2 separate regions of the Homo sapiens genome follow, and region 2 is linked to region 1. Evidence: promoter capture Hi-C in 16 types of primary human blood cells and fetal thymus (Javierre and others, 2016). All regions are on one chromosome and are shown on one strand. The core of a region is centred on a gene start or on the middle of the fragment in contact, and the rest is flanking DNA. Distances in the headings are between cores, read along the strand shown.

Region 1 (3,264 bases), core at 62-2,561:
ATTCAATTTGGACGAAGACAAGAATACTGTATCACCACAATAAAATTCCAGCTATATTAATTTGAAGGGTAGAATTTGTTGCACAAGAGCATTGTCTAAAAGAAAATTGAAAAATAAATGAATGCCTTCCATATTCTGGGTTCAAATATCTACTTTCTTTGTGAAGTTCGGTGTAAGATTGACTAATTGGCACAAGCTTTTTAATGAAATATTTATTCATCAACCTTATGAAACTTGGAGACTTGGATACTGAGTTCTGATCTTATGGTTAGTATGGCATTAGTGTTTAGCTTGAGCTTAGAAATATTTACAAGTCATTTGTATTTTAATTAACCCCTTTGCTGATACATGACATCAGAGGTGATGCTTAGCAAATGGCTATTCAATTGTCTGGCATATACATTTATTTAGAGAAGATGTAAAATTCACTACTACATAAAATTTCTCCCAGAGAAGCTGAAAGTAGTGATACTTGAAAGTATCTTCATTCAGAATTTTAAATATGATCTACATGTTTAATATGCATAAACCTTTAGAAAAGAAGAAGTGGAAATCAATTGGTTTATTTCTATCTCTGAAACTATCAAAATTTGACTTCTTGACTTTCTACTTCTGATTGGATGAGCTGTAATAGTATGCTGTAGACACTTTTAGACAAAGTGTGAATACATTTTTCCCTGAGACATTAGATTATCTCTAGAAATCATGAAAGGGGTTCTTTATAAATTATATGTCTAACATTGAAAGAAAGTGTTGTCTTTGATCTTGTAGGTAAAAAAGCTCTATACCTATGGGAATGAGTTAATTCCTCTATTTAATAAGATGCAGTCATTAGTAGACAACTTAAGGATTCATTCTAGAACTACATATTGAATTTCTTTAGCATAATAATGATCTTATAATAGTTCTGGGTAACGGAAGTCTTTGAATGTACCTGTACCTGAGATGAGAGACAACTGACAAAGAGAAAGGAATTTCAAATATAAGGTAAATAGCACTGCTAATTGAAGATAAAAATCAGTACATTTACAACATTAACCGTAGCTATTATTGTCCCAAATCTAAAACCACTGAACATTCAATTTCAACAACTATGTATTAGTACAGGACTTTGTTATCTAAAATGATTATGCTTACCAGAAAAGTGTCCAGGGATGTCCACCTGCTATGTGGCTATGCCTGGGCAGCACGTGAATTCTCTGTCTTTGCTCCCTCAGACCAAGGCTGTCTCAGATTTATGAAACAGGGCTCTTCCACGAAGTTTAGAAGTACCACAAACAGTTTGATGTGGCATCCAGACTTACTGCAACCTCTGGGTGCAAAGATTGAACAGCTTTGTTGATACAACCACTCAGAAAGGACCGTGGAAGTTATGTTTCCAACACACTGCCAGACACTTGTCATCAGGCTTAAATGCCTGTTGGCAAGAGCCAGATATGAAAAACAGCTACATCAAAAGATACCTTTTTAATGGTCTAATATATTATTTCTAATGAAATTAAATGTATAAAAGAAAACAAATATTAATTCTTCTAGTTTATCTGCAGTATATTTTCCAAGAAATATATTTTAATTTTATATATCAATACTTTTAGGCACTAGATAAACAATTGTTTGGTTCAGAAAGTTCAAACTATCACATTCATTATTTGTAAACAGTATTAGCAGTCTACAACGTTACACATTTACTGTGAGCCAGGCACTTTACACAGTGTTTTGTAAACATTAACTTTGAGGGAGGTATTATTATTTGATAAATGAGGAAAATAAGACTTAGTGGGATTAAATTACTTGCTCAGTCACAAAGCTAGCTGGAGGCAGAACTGACTTAACAAAAATCCTTCATTTCAACCTTGGTTTTGCTTTCATACTAAATTTCCCTAAAGGAAATATTTTAAATGTATTCTCTAGAAAAAGAAGGGGAAAAGAAGAAGGCTGAGAAGAAAGTTACTTCTGAAACAAAAAAGAAAGGTAGGAAATTTAAAAGCCATGTACCACATAAATCAATTAGTGTCCATGCATAATACTACTGGTAAATCTATTATTTTCTAGGAAAGAAATTCCCTTAATAAATGCATTGTCATTGTTATTAGTGAACACTCTTAACATGTCTAGATATTCCAAATAAAATTAAAATTGTCAATTTTTAAAAAGAGAATTCAATCCTAAACACTTTTTGAAAATTACTACTGTGATTATTTTTTCTTTCTTAAGAGCAGCTGCTTAATTCTCTCTAATTCACTACTTTACTTTAACTATATATGTGAATATGATGGTTACTATTTAACTAATTCAGTCTAATTTTAAAAGTCATTTTATGTAGAGGGCAGAAAATACTTGATTGGTTTGTTTTACACATATATATATATTTTAATTGGTTGTTTTCAAATAATTTATCTGATGTCCCAAGTGAACTTCAGAGATTTCAGAACTTTTGACATGGTTCTGGTGACCTCATAGCTCAGAGAACATTCAATATATTCTTTTCAATATATGTTAGGAAAGCTGTTAAATAATACCATAATTAATAATGCCATTTAATGTTTTCACTGTTATTAAATAATTTTTGCCTTTGGCAAAAAAAAAAAAGTTCTGTTTCCTGAAGAGAAATTATACCTAAGCCACTAGTCTGTTATGAAGGTGCTACCTTATTCATATTTGACATGACTTATGGCTGATTTAAGATTTCTCTATACAAGATAAATTAGATGCCTCACTGGTAGTCATGCATGCCCTGAAATATTTGCAAGTTAAACAGGTAAAGGCTTATAACTTTCTTATTTTACCAGCAGAAAAAGAAGATATCAAAAAGAAAAGTGAGAAGGAAACTGCCATTGATGTGGAAAAAAAAGGTATTGCACTTTCTTTGTTTCCTTAGATGGATTACGTTCAGGATGTTTGCTTCATGAAAGACTCCTCATGCAACATACACAAATTGCACACAGTTACTTATATCTACCCAAGACGTGAAGGTCAAAGCAAAACTTGCACTAGACAAAGTTAAACAGGCAAAGAAGACTTTATTCAAGGCTATTGCAATAGGACAGAGAGACTGGAATTGAGTCTGAACTCAATTCCCCCCCAAAAAAACGCAGGAATGTTTGTAATGGCTGGTATGGGGAATCACAGGACATCTGTTTTTGCATATTGGCTTTTCCCCCTCAAAACGTAAACTTTCAGTCTTATATCTGCATGGTAAGAAGTAGTTTCACAATGTGGAGCGAGGAGTCCAAGGAAGTTAGGCTCCTACTCTTCCACAGAAAC
Region 2 (3,444 bases), core at 590-3,089, 280 kb before region 1:
TCCCTATTATGTAGCAGCAGCCCTAAATCCTCATGAAGACCAGAATCAATTACCCCTGCTAGTATGGGAGCTCATTTATCTGCTCATGCTCTAACTGCATGAGGGGTACAAAATGACCAGGCAGCAGACATATTTTTATATCTAGAGGGACTGTAACTATGTATCCTTGCATAATAATACATGCTCTGGGAAACAGAAACTCTAGACTGGCAAAGCCTAAACCTGTGGGGACAGGAAACAAAAATTCCCTAAGTAAGTCTTTAGGAATAAGTGATGATGACCAGGACCACTCCTACATCCCCCTTTGATTACTAAACCCATGTTCTCTACCTATTGTGGATCAACGCCATAAAATGACAATTGGTATAAAATATATACCACATGGGGAGTGGTAGCACCCCATGCTTGTAGGGGATAGCATCTCCAAGCTGGCACCTCAGCTGTATCTATAAGAGGCTATTTCATTGCTCTCTTAGGCTGGTGGTTTCCAACTGTGCATTATGTGGTAGGACTAATTGATTTGATGGTTATATTTCTTTTTTAAGGTGAAGTTGATCCCTTGGTCTGAGGTGATAGTATTATGTAGGATATTAATATGTAGGATATTATATTAGGAGATGAAAACTCTGTGAAACCTTGGTAGTAGTGCTTGCTGAATCACTGTGAGGAAGAAAGGTGAACACATATCCAGAAGGTATATTAATTTTGATCACAAAAAAATGTTGCCCTTTTGAGGGTAGAAGGGGTTCAATGTCATCATTTATCCACCAAATGTCTGATTAGTTTCCTTGTGGGTGGGTACTATACTGGGGACTTAGCATTGGTCTCTCTCTGTTCCTGACAGGTTGGACATATTAACAGGAGGAAAAGTAGATTAGCCTTAGTGAGGGGGAGCCTATGCTGGTGGGCTCGTGCATAGCTTCACTCTCTATCACCATGGCTACTCCATTCATGACCCAAATGCCAAAGCCCTAAGGTGGCTACAGTGACTGGATGTTTAATTCTGTTGGTATAGGGGCTTCTTTCTGGTGTATATTAATGTGTTTTATACAAATATCTCACTTTTGCAGCTACTCCTGCAGCTTCATCCCCATGCCTCTAATCCTTAACTTGATTTTGCAGTTTTACGGAAGGAATTTCCTGAAATTCCTTCCAGGATTTGACTAACTCGGATTAGTCAGAAAAAAAAAATAAAAATAAAAATAAATAAATTACTTGAAAGACACAAACTACCAAAGCTTACTCAAGAAGAAAGGGATAACTCAAATAGTCCTACATTTACTAAATAAGTAAATTTTTTAGTTAGAAAACCTGTCAAAAAAAGCTCTAGGCATAAGTGGCTTCTCTTGTGAATTAGGCCAAATGTTTAAGAGAGAAAACATACCAATTTTACTAAAAACTCTTCCAGAAAATTGAAGAAGAAAGAATACTTTCCAACTTATTCTATGAAGTCAGTATTTCCCTGAGACCAAAACTGGACAAAAATATTACAAAATAAAATTTCAAATTACTGTCATTCAGGGACATAGATAGAAATATTCTAAACAATATTTTAGCAAATATAATTTAACTATGCAGAAAATAAAGTTTATGATCAAGTGTGTTTATCATAGGAATGTGAAGTGTTTAAAATAAAAAAATATCAGTGTAATTTGCTACATTTAAAAACTAAAACGAAACAAAATAAAAGCCCAATAGATAGTGACAATTCATTCCATAAAATCAAACAGTCATTCCAGGGGAAAACCCTCAGCAAACTAAGTGTAGAAGATAAATTCCTCAACCTGTTAAGGAATATTTACAAAAATCTTACAATGAACGTCACACATAATAGTGAAAAACGGAATGCTTACTCTCAAAATCAGAAAGAAAGATGAGGAGTTCCACACTCAACACTTTGGCTCAATATTGTACTAGAAGTAATGGCCAATGCAATTAGTTAAAAAAAGAGAAAGAGAGATAAAAGGCATCTAGTCTGAACAAGAATCTAACAAAAGTCTTTATTTACAAACGACATAATTGAAGCAGGATATTTCCCTGACCTTTCGTGGGACTTGTGACAGGGGTGACTTGTTTACCCAGCCTGCAGTTTTCAATTCCTTGCGGGAGGGAGTACACAAGTGAACGGGGCAGGAGCTGGAGTGTGGGAATTTTGGAAGCAGCCAGCCACTATGGCAGGGGCAAACTCCACTCACCTGCACCTGATGCATTCCACCACTTGCAGGAGGGAGTGTGCAGGTGAGCAGGTGCAGGAGCTGAGGAGAGCACTTTTGGGTGCAAGCAGGAGCAAAACTCCATGCGGACCCACAACCTCTGAAGCCACAGAAGAAGTGTTACAGTGCTCTTTTAGCTCTGCCATTCTGCTGATGACTTAAGTGTTAACTTAAGTGTTAAGTGGGCCTCTGTCTTTTATATTGGCACTTGTGACTTCCAAGCTTTTGTCCGGTGTCCAGGAGAAATAAGGTTGGATGAACAAATTGAAGGATGGTAAATGTGGGGGATTTTATTTCTGATGAAAGTGGCTAATAGCCAGAAGGAGAGCTGACAAGGAGATGGGGTGAGAAGGTAATCTTCTCCTGAATTCCAGCCATCTCCGGCTGGGTTCTTCTCCGAAGTTACACCATCATGCTGGCCCTCTGAGATCAAGCTGCTTCTCTCTGACATCCAGCCATAGTCTCTGATGTCAAGCTACTTCTCCTCTCTCTGCCTGCTGAGTATAGGGTTTTCATAGCCACAGGATGGGGCGGGGTGGGGCCAGGGCCATGGGTAGTTTTGGAAAAAGCAATATTTGGGTGGGAAAACAGGGAATAAGTTCCCATTTCAGGCCATGGTTTCAGGCTTGAGGGTGGGGTTTTGCCAGGGACCCACCGCTGTCTGCCTAGAATTTCTCTACCTCCTGTCCTGATCATAATTGTCTATGTGGAAATCTAATGAATGTGTTAAAATGCTACTAGAATTAGTAAATGAATTTAACAAAATTGTACAATATAGGATCAATATATAAATGTTAAATGTATTTCTACAAACTAGCAATAAAAATTGATAATTAAAATTTATAACACAAGACCATTTGTAATATCATCAAATACATAAAATTCTTAGAAATATTTGAAAAGAAATTTGAAACACCTATTCACTGAAAACCACAAAAAGTTGAGAAAAATTAAAGGGAACCTAAATAAATGGATACATAAACTATATTCATGGATTTGAAGGCTCAATATTACCAACATGTTAATTTCCTTCAATTTAATTTACAGATTCAATGTGTTCCCTACAAAAATATAAGCAGCCTTTTCCAGGGAAATAAATTGACAAGCTGATCCTAAGATTCAGATAGAAATACAAAGAATCTAGACTTGCCAAAATAAATTTGAAAAAAAAAAAATGAGTTACAGGATTTATGATAACTGACTTCAAGACCTGTGCTATGTTTTGAATTTT

What was found. The method cuts DNA at HindIII sites, captures the fragments that hold promoters and counts their contacts. A CHiCAGO score of 5 or more calls a contact.
Region 2: a fragment that was not itself captured here is called in contact with the fragment with the promoter of TRDN-AS1 in region 1 in 2 of 17 cell types (erythroblasts and endothelial precursors); the score reaches 5.7 in erythroblasts.

Annotation. Positions count from the first base shown.
Region 1 is chr6:123,437,651-123,440,914 of GRCh38, reverse strand. It overlaps TRDN-AS1 (TRDN antisense RNA 1), which reads right to left and starts at 1,311. Exons shown (of 3, transcript NR_110844.1): 1 at 1,138-1,311. It overlaps TRDN (triadin), which reads left to right. Exons shown (of 41, transcript NM_006073.4): 11 at 1,912-1,971; 12 at 2,793-2,852. The HindIII fragment of the contact is 3,987 bases long and covers 199-3,264 here.
Region 2 is chr6:123,718,560-123,722,003 of GRCh38, reverse strand. No RefSeq gene overlaps it. Among named protein-coding and RNA genes, the nearest start is that of TRDN, 83 kb to the right of the region's middle. The HindIII fragment of the contact is 1,197 bases long and covers 1,241-2,437 here.